Regions from separate parts of the Homo sapiens genome. Here region 2 is linked to region 1. The links are contacts of gene promoters, found by promoter capture Hi-C in blood cells and fetal thymus (Javierre and others, 2016). All regions are on one chromosome and are shown on one strand. Each heading gives the region's core, a stretch centred on a gene start or on the middle of the fragment in contact. The rest is flanking DNA. Distances are from core to core; before and after follow the strand shown. Region 1 holds the start of ROCK1 (Rho associated coiled-coil containing protein kinase 1). Region 2 overlaps ROCK1 (Rho associated coiled-coil containing protein kinase 1).

Region 1 (4,400 bases), core at 223-2,722:
CGGTTCTCTGAGAAACAACAAAATTCCTAATACCTAAAAATGGTAATAATAATAAAAAAAAGACAAGCAGGGTTTAGGAAATTTATTTTAGGGCAACTGCCTGATTTATTTTAAGCCCTATGCTTAAAAATAAGTCTAATTCACATGACTTAAAATGCTGGAGCCAAGAAAAGTCGCTGCAAAGGCATTTAATGAAATACCTGGTTTGTCTAGTTGTCTTTGTTATGATTTTTGTATAAACCAAGAACGTCCTATCTTGATATATATAGTGGATTTTATATCTAAATATTTCTTGTATTTAATAAATTGAAAATAGAAATAGACATTTTTTCAAACAGTGTAAGATTTTCCTAACCTCTGACTCACATCGTAAGGCTGGTGGACTGTTCAGATGCTGTACGATGCTTTTTACTCCGATGCTTTTTGGTTCATCTGTAGCATTTTCCATCATGGGGTAAAAGATCCACATTTTCTATTTCTAGTGATCCTTAATTTGGCTTCTGAGCAAAAATAAAGTTTGATGAGGAATAAATTAAGGTAGATTTCCTGCTGAAACCAGTGAAGAACATAACTTTATCAGCGGGGGTGAGTGACAAGTCTTTCACCTTTCCTCACACCACAGTCAACGAAGTAACGGAACTAGGAGAAATGCCCATTATTCTCATGTCCTACATTAGTTCTGATAAAAATCACAATTAAGTTTCACTGAATGTTTTGACATTGAAACGGCAGCATTACACGTCCAGGAGAGAACTACAGTAGGGGTGTTATGAGAACTAACACGAACGACTTAAAAATATTGATTTTTTTCTACGAGATTATTTTCCTTTAAAAAAATTAAATTGAGCTTGACTTCTATTGACTGTATCTTCCGGAGTCAGTATTTTATGGCTCCCCTGACACACACGCCTGGCGTGGGAGGGCTGAGCGCTGCAGCGCTTCGGAACTTTCCCAGTGAATCGTAAATGGGTTCAACGCCGGGGCTCGCGGAGGGCTGTCCATGGAGTACCACTGAAAACCAAACGCCACTGGTGCTCAATGCTGGTACCTGCCGACGAAAAGGCTTCTTGCCTAAAAAAGAACCTATTGCCCCACCCTAACAGCAACAAGGAGAACAAGCACTCTCTCCTCGTCAGAAGTCTCTGGACTGGCTGCAACCCAGAGGAAACAGAGCTGGGGCATCTGCCGGGACAGCGATCAGAAGCAGCCAGAGCTCCGCCTCCGTCCGGACCTCCAAGGCCGCTCCAGAGCCCTGCATGGCTCCTCAGAGCCGGCCAAGGCGAGAACCTTGCCGGCAGCTGCTTACCCGCACTCGGCTCCTCCCAGCGGTCCGCCTTCTCCACCGCCTGCCCGCAAGGCCCCGCCCACCTCACCGCCCCGCCCCACCCCACCCTGCGGAGGCGACAGAGTGCGCGCGCGCGCGCGGGGTCCCGGCTGGTTCCCCTTCCGAGCGTCCGCGCCCCGCATGCGCAGTCTGCCCCGGCGGTCTCCGTTTGTTTGAACAGGAAGGCGGACATATTAGTCCCTCTCAGCCCCCCTCGCCCCACCCCCCAGGCATTCGCCGCCGCGACTCGCCCTTTCCCCGGCTGGGACCGCAGCCCCTCCCAGAAGCTCCCCCATCAGCAGCCGCCGGGACCCAACTATCGTCTTCCTCTTCGCCCGCTCTCCAGCCTTTCCTCTGCTAAGTCTCCATCGGGCATCGACCTCGCCCTGCCCCACCGGACACCGTAGCAGCAGCCCCAGCAGCGACGGGACAAAATGGGAGAGTGAGGCTGTCCTGCGTGGACCAGCTCGTGGCCGAGACTGATCGGTGCGTCGGGCCGGGCCGAGTAGAGCCGGGGACGCGGGGCTAGACCGTCTACAGCGCCTCTGAGCGGAGCGGGCCCGGCCCGTGGCCCGAGCGGCGGCCGCAGCTGGCACAGCTCCTCACCCGCCCTTTGCTTTCGCCTTTCCTCTTCTCCCTCCCTTGTTGCCCGGAGGGAGTCTCCACCCTGCTTCTCTTTCTCTACCCGCTCCTGCCCATCTCGGGACGGGGACCCCTCCATGGCGACGGCGGCCGGGGCCCGCTAGACTGAAGCACCTCGCCGGAGCGACGAGGCTGGTGGCGACGGCGCTGTCGGCTGTCGTGAGGGGCTGCCGGGTGGGATGCGACTTTGGGCGTCCGAGCGGCTGTGGGTCGCTGTTGCCCCCGGCCCGGGGTCTGGAGAGCGGAGGTCCCCTCAGTGAGGGGAAGACGGGGGAACCGGGCGCACCTGGTGACCCTGAGGTTCCGGCTCCTCCGCCCCGCGGCTGCGAACCCACCGCGGAGGAAGTTGGTTGAAATTGCTTTCCGCTGCTGGTGCTGGTAAGAGGGCATTGTCACAGCAGCAGCAACATGTCGACTGGGGACAGTTTTGAGACTCGATTTGAAAAAATGGACAACCTGCTGCGGGATCCCAAATCGGAAGTGAATTCGGATTGTTTGCTGGTGAGTAGCGCTGTTCTCTTTTGCTTGTCTGGGGTTTTGCATGTCTTTCCTTCCTCTTGCATTAGTCTGGTTCGCTGCAAAAGTCTCAGGTGTGCATAATCGTCTTGGAAAATGCTAGATTTCTGTTTCCTGAAGAATCTTGGAGTACCATTAACATCTCATGGTGTGGTCCTATTTGCCATTTGACTGGCTCTGTACTAACTACTCTGAACTTTTAATTCTGACTCAGTTCATGAGTACCCGAAAGATACTTACAAACTGCTATTGCAGGCATCCTATAAAAAGTTATCACGTCAGAGTTACTGCAATGTATACAGTTTGTTGAATGGCGATCGTAGTAATTAATGTTAATCTTTCTGATCCGTTTGACAGTTAAATTGGAAAGACTACTTTGCATTTTTTTTCCTTTTTGCGATTTAGCTCCTAGGGGTTTAGTTTTTAGCCTTGAAAATGATAACGGAGAATTGCTATTGAGGAAGTGATTTTTGAGCCAAAATTTCATAGGTGATTTGAGTTTGAAGGAACTTTTTGCTAAACTATTGTAAAAAACCAAGATAATTGGTCATAGGTAATTACAGTGTTAACTTATTTTATTGTATTATTGGTTACAAAAGTACGTACCATACAGTTATTGTAACTGTCTTTTTGGTGGTGTGGCACTTAACATTGTCACTTGTAAAACATTCTAAAGAGGGTTTTATGACATGAAAAACCACAATCCCATTTTAAAAATAGTTAAGTGGTTGATAATACAGTTATCTGTAAATAATTGGAATTCTTAGGTTTGATACATTTCCTCTGTAAATGTATCAAAGTTGTTCAGAGTTTCTGAACAACTAAGGGTTATATAATATTTCTTGGTCCAAACAAAACCACATAATCTCTAAAATAAGGTTTCAGGGAGCATGTATATGGACAGGATTTCACAATGTCTTCGGTGAAATAATGTTAGATATGCTCAATTTTGGGGATTAAGATTAAGGAAACAAAATAATACCATTCAAAGAAATAATACAATTCAAAAATCGCATCTTGAATCAAAGGAAAATTAATGTAGATTGTTTAAAATTAACGTGCATTTCAGTTACTCTAAATTTCTGTTTATTTGTATTTTTCCACGTGTATGGGTTTTACAACAAGCTTCCCAAAGCTTTCAGAATTGTTGTAAGCATCCCTGACCAGGAAATAAGACTATTGTGGGTTGTTTGAAATGTCTCACCACATTATGGATGCTCTTTATATTGAGAGATAGTAAAGAAGGTTGATGCGTAATAGATTTTAAAACATTTTATTAAACGAGATAAGTGGAAGGAATTAGAATATATCTTGTAGTAAGGATTTCTATAACTTCTAAGAAGTCTGATTTATCTTTTAATATTTATCCAGTTTTCATATATTTTTGATTTTATTTTGCTTTTCGATCTCCTTATTACATGAGTGGTGTTATAGGGAGGGTTTAGTAGCTTTCTTTTTCTTTAAATCATCTTCTGGCCTCTTGCTATAGCTTCATTTGGTGGGGACCTTTATTTACATGTGGAGGATACAAGGAAATATAAGTCATGACTCTTTCCCTGAGAGTCCAATCTATTTAATGGAAGACAAAACCTTGTCTCACATATATACACAGAAACAAAGCTAAACACTTCACAGATTGAGAAAATGTGATAAATTCCAGATGATTGTTTAGATAATGTATGTTCTTGGAAATTGAGAGAAAGAAGTCACTGTGAGTTGAGAGAGCCAAAGTATGTTTTATAATGGATGGATAGGATTTAGGTAGAGGGTACTCAAGAGGAGTGGAGGATAACGTGAATAGAGGGTGGAGACATGACTGGCTATGACATGTTTGGGGAAACAAGGAAGATAAGGTTGGAAGGAAATATTAGCGTTAGATTGTGGAGGATTTGATTGGTAGGCTAAGGATTTTGGATTG
Region 2 (4,407 bases), core at 893-3,392, 48 kb after region 1:
AATATAAAGATTTACTTTTCTGGGCTCTGGTGTATGATACCTAAATAATAAGGCTGCAAAGAAGATGTTTATCAGCCTCACATACCTGATAAGGAAAGATTTCAGGTGACATTTTCATAGGAGTTAGAGAGATGATACCAAGATAAAATTAAGCGATTGTTGTGGGAGTTAGTCACAGTTTTGAAGACACATGTTGGGAGCCAGAACATTGGGAGGATGAAGGGAGAGAAAATTTGGGAACAGTGATTATGATTGTATATGCTTATAAACCATTATGGATGTCACAGAGACTTTAGGGTACAAGATTCATAATTATATGTTAATAGAAAAACATGTTTATCAAACAAATCTTAGTCTAAAAGAAGATAATGGAGAAGGTAAGACCATTGAATGAAGAAAATTCATGAACCTCCGGGTATAAATGCAAGAGAGCTCATTTGTTTGGCTTAAAAAAAAAACAGAACTGATATTTTATGTCATATACTATATCTTTTATAATATAGATTACAAAAGTGACATAATAGCTATGGTAGTGATAAAAGCATACAGTACAGTTGGTAAATTTTTGGTTGCTTTGGCACTAGTACAATTACTGAGAAAGTAATGCGAATAATCACTATTCAGAGTTAGTGATCAAAAGCGATGATCATTTAGAATGTTACACAGACCTTGAGACAAAGCATTCAGTTCACTTTAGACCAGGGTTTCTCAAGTGGCACCAATGACATTTTAGGTCAGATAACTCTTTGCTGGGAGGCTGTTCTTTGCATCGTATGATGTTTAGCAGCACCCCTGGCCTCTGCCTTCTTAATGCCAGTAGCATATCCTAACACCTATCCCCAGTTGTGATCACCAGAAATATTTCTAGACATTGCCAAATATCCCTTGAGAGGCAAAACTGCCTAAGACTTTATGTTGATGAAGGAAAGAAATAGTGGGCGCAGTTAGACACGTGCTCCAAGCTTAGAAAATGTAATCAAAAGCAATAAATATTAGAAGGTTGCAGCCATAGAAAGCAAGGTTCTTCCACAGGGAGTTCTCAGCTGAGATTATAAAGTTTTATGAACCAGATCAGAAGTATGAATACATATCCAGGGATAAATACAAAAGAGTAGTATAAATCTATTAAAAATGTGTTAGGCTAGAAGACTATAATGAGCCACAACTTGTGAAAAGCTCTTAAGCCCTTTACAAGTCATTCTCTCTTCTACTCCCATCCTTCCTGGTTAGAATTAGGATTCAAGATGTGTGAGAAAAGGATAATTTCACTACATGAGACCATTCTTGAAATAGTTTTTGAATGACCAGTTACTAAAGACATGAAGAACAAGACTGTTTTTCTTAGAAACTGTAGCTCTTACCATCTCATGGATGGAAACACACACAGATATACCTTATAATAGTAGAAGTTTGTAGAGAATGTAATGATACACAGATCTTGAATGGGGTAAAGAAAGGCTTCCAAAAGAAAGTAATATTTGAGTCTTAAAACATGGGCTAGATTTTTCAATGGAGGAAGGACAGTTCTGAGAGGGAGGACCATTTAAATCACAGAGTCTTCCAAAAGTATGACATCTTTGAGGAACCAGGAGTTTGGTGTAAATTGAACTTGGTTTATAATGAGAGAGAAAGGGTCGGGAGGACGGACTGCAGGGGATGAGACTGAAATGGCAGGCTGGGGCTTTTGGGTTAATGGGTTGGATATTAAAAAAAATTACTTAGTTGCTTGTTTTTTCTTTTCAAATTCTCATGAGTTTTAAAAACTTAGATAAAGAAATTGAAGTAAGTTCAAGGAAGAGGAGAAAGTTTGAGTGTTTTAAATACCTCTAAATCAAGGCAGTTTACACCTATTGAATTAACATGCTGAGGTGATTGAAGATCTTTAGAGAAACTTTGGAGAATGATGGAGTTCCCAAAAAACTAAAGATAGGTAAATGGTCTGGTTATAATAAACCAAAGAAAAGACTGATAAGTGCAGATTTCTGAACAGTGGCAGTCTTCATACAGAGGCTTGACTTTCCCTCTTTTTCCAACACAACTATTGTTTAAGCTTCTTCATTTTCATTTAAATGATCACAAAAATCTTCCATTCAGTCTCAATAATACATCTACTTTTGCCTATGTACAGTTACCTACGTTGCTGCCAGAGGATTCTTTTTGAATAGTAAATTTAAGTCAAATTCCATTCCCAGCTTTTTGGTGGATTTTCTAAACTTGATGCTATCTAAGCTTCTAAATTACATTCTTAACTGTACACCTCTCCTCCTTGTTTCCTTACACATCAGCTACACGCTGACATTTATTTCCTGGAAAGTACCATGACACCTCCATAAGACTTTTCAGATGTTGTTTTTCTCTTTCTAGAATTCTTTCCAACCCACCCAACTCAAAGCAGTCATCCTTTAAATTTCAAATAAGCCTTCATTTTTGTTCCCTAACCTCTTGGTTATCTAGGCTTCATGGATCTGACCTTCTGAGCATGTACTTCTATGGCATCTTGTATACTTATCACAGGTTATATTTATTTGTATGACTATTTAATTGGTACCTGCTGTGGTTTGAATGCCCCCACCAAAACTCATTAAAGTTTAATTGCCAGTGCTAGTAGGTGGGGACGTTAAGAAGTGATTAGGTCATGTGGGTTCCACCCCCATGAATGGATTAATGCTGTTATTGTGGGAAGGGGTTATAAAAGTGAGCTCTTGTGCATGTATGCTCTTACTCTTCCACTTGTCTACCATTGAATGACCCTTGCCAGATGCCCTTTTTTCTTTTATAAATTACCCATTCTGTGGTATTCTGTTATAGCAGCAAAAAACAGACTAAGACAGTATCCATTCTCCTTTTTCTCCTTCTCCTGTCACTAGATTTTAAGTGCCATGAGAGCAGGGGCATTTATGTTTTTACTGCCAAACCTGACAGCATAGTAAGTACTTGTTATATATGAGCTCAGTGCATTAGACGTTGGATACTGACTTGTTAGAGATGATCTAGAAAGTCCAGGTGGTCTCTGACTTTAAAATTTCCAGCTTTATGAGGGTTTCATTGGAACATAACTCCATCATAAATCTAGGCACATCACTGGTGATGTTAACGCTTATCATTTGGTTTAAGGTAGTGTCTGGCAAGCTTCTCCACTAGTAAGTTACCATTTTCTTTTTCCAAACGCTGTGGAGGGGAGCGTATTCCCTTTCCATACTCTCCTGGAGGGGAGACTTTACACGTATTATTTGGAATTCTGTAGGGAAGATTTGCCTTTTCTCCCCCATTTATTAATTTAGTCATTGATTTATATAATATAAACTGCATATATTTATTTCATACTTTGGGTTGTAATCCAGTAGTGTGTTATTTATTAGGTTGGTGCAAAAGTAATTGCAGTTTTTGCCACTATTTTTAGCAAAAATCTCAATTGCTTTTGCACCAACCTAATACTTTGTTACTTAAATTGTTCTCATTTTTGCCTTTTGGGAGCTCCTTCAGGTTGGACCCAGCTCCTACTCCTGTGTTCTTTGACATGTTCTTACTTTTTTTAAAAAAAGGAACACTTCTTTACTTTCTGGCATTACACGATGCTCCAGGCTCATCTTATATTTTCCCTCAGCCCTGAAATCAGCCATTTTTTCCAAGGAGCTCTGGTTCCTTTTATTGGAGAATGATATTTAGAAACCAAGATCTGGGTGCTAGGTGTGCTTATTGCTACTGGTGATCACTGTTTCAAGGCCCTCTCAGCTGCCATAGCTAGGAAATATATGTATGCATGTATACCAGCCTGTGACTATACACATAACTATAATTCTATACCTGTACACATGTTAAACGTGTTTAGACTGATATTACCAGCTCTAAACTAGTATCACAAGATTCATTCTAGCTTTTGCCCTTGCCTGTTTGTAACTTTTTTTCTCTGATGATGAGAAACCTGGCTCCCATTATTGGTATTTACTTACTCAACCCTAATATTCATGTAAAATAAACCATACACCCTGTGAGAAATGGATTTACCAACTGGAACACAATATCTTTGTACAGTTCCTTTTTTGTCTTTAGCCTTAGTTTCCAGCTAAAACAGTTTTCCAGCATTACGTAGTTCAGCTTCTTTTCCCTCACCACCTTCAATGAGGGCATGTCATCTTGTTAGTCATACATTTAGATTCATTTGTTAGAATCTGGATTCCATCCTGAGATCCCCCAGAATCCCAATTGATTTTTTAAATTTGCATAAAGTGTGTATAGTTCTGTGGGTCTTAACAAACACATAGTCTTGTCTGCAACACCCCAATACCATTCGGAACAGTTCCATCACCCCCACTCCTGGGAAACACTGATCTCTTTTTCTGTTCCTATAGTTTTACCTTTTCCAGAATGTCATTAAATGGAATCATACAGTGTATAGCCTTTTGATTC

Evidence for each region. The method cuts DNA at HindIII sites, captures the fragments that hold promoters and counts their contacts. A CHiCAGO score of 5 or more calls a contact.
Region 2: a fragment that was not itself captured here is called in contact with the fragment with the promoter of ROCK1 in region 1 in 3 of 17 cell types (naive CD4 T cells, total B cells and naive B cells); the score reaches 5.5 in naive CD4 T cells.

What each region holds. Positions count from the first base shown.
Region 1 is chr18:21,108,885-21,113,284 of GRCh38, reverse strand. It overlaps ROCK1 (Rho associated coiled-coil containing protein kinase 1), which reads left to right and starts at 1,472. Exons shown (of 33, transcript NM_005406.3): 1 at 1,472-2,467. The coding sequence starts at 2,375. RefSeq lists enhancers at 874-933, 964-1,183, 1,283-1,577, 1,231-1,819 and a silencer at 1,224-1,613. The HindIII fragment of the contact is 6,843 bases long and covers 1-3,609 here.
Region 2 is chr18:21,061,413-21,065,819 of GRCh38, reverse strand. All of the region lies in intron 2 of ROCK1 (Rho associated coiled-coil containing protein kinase 1), which reads left to right. Among named protein-coding and RNA genes, the nearest start is that of ROCK1, 48 kb to the left of the region's middle. The HindIII fragment of the contact is 179 bases long and covers 2,053-2,231 here.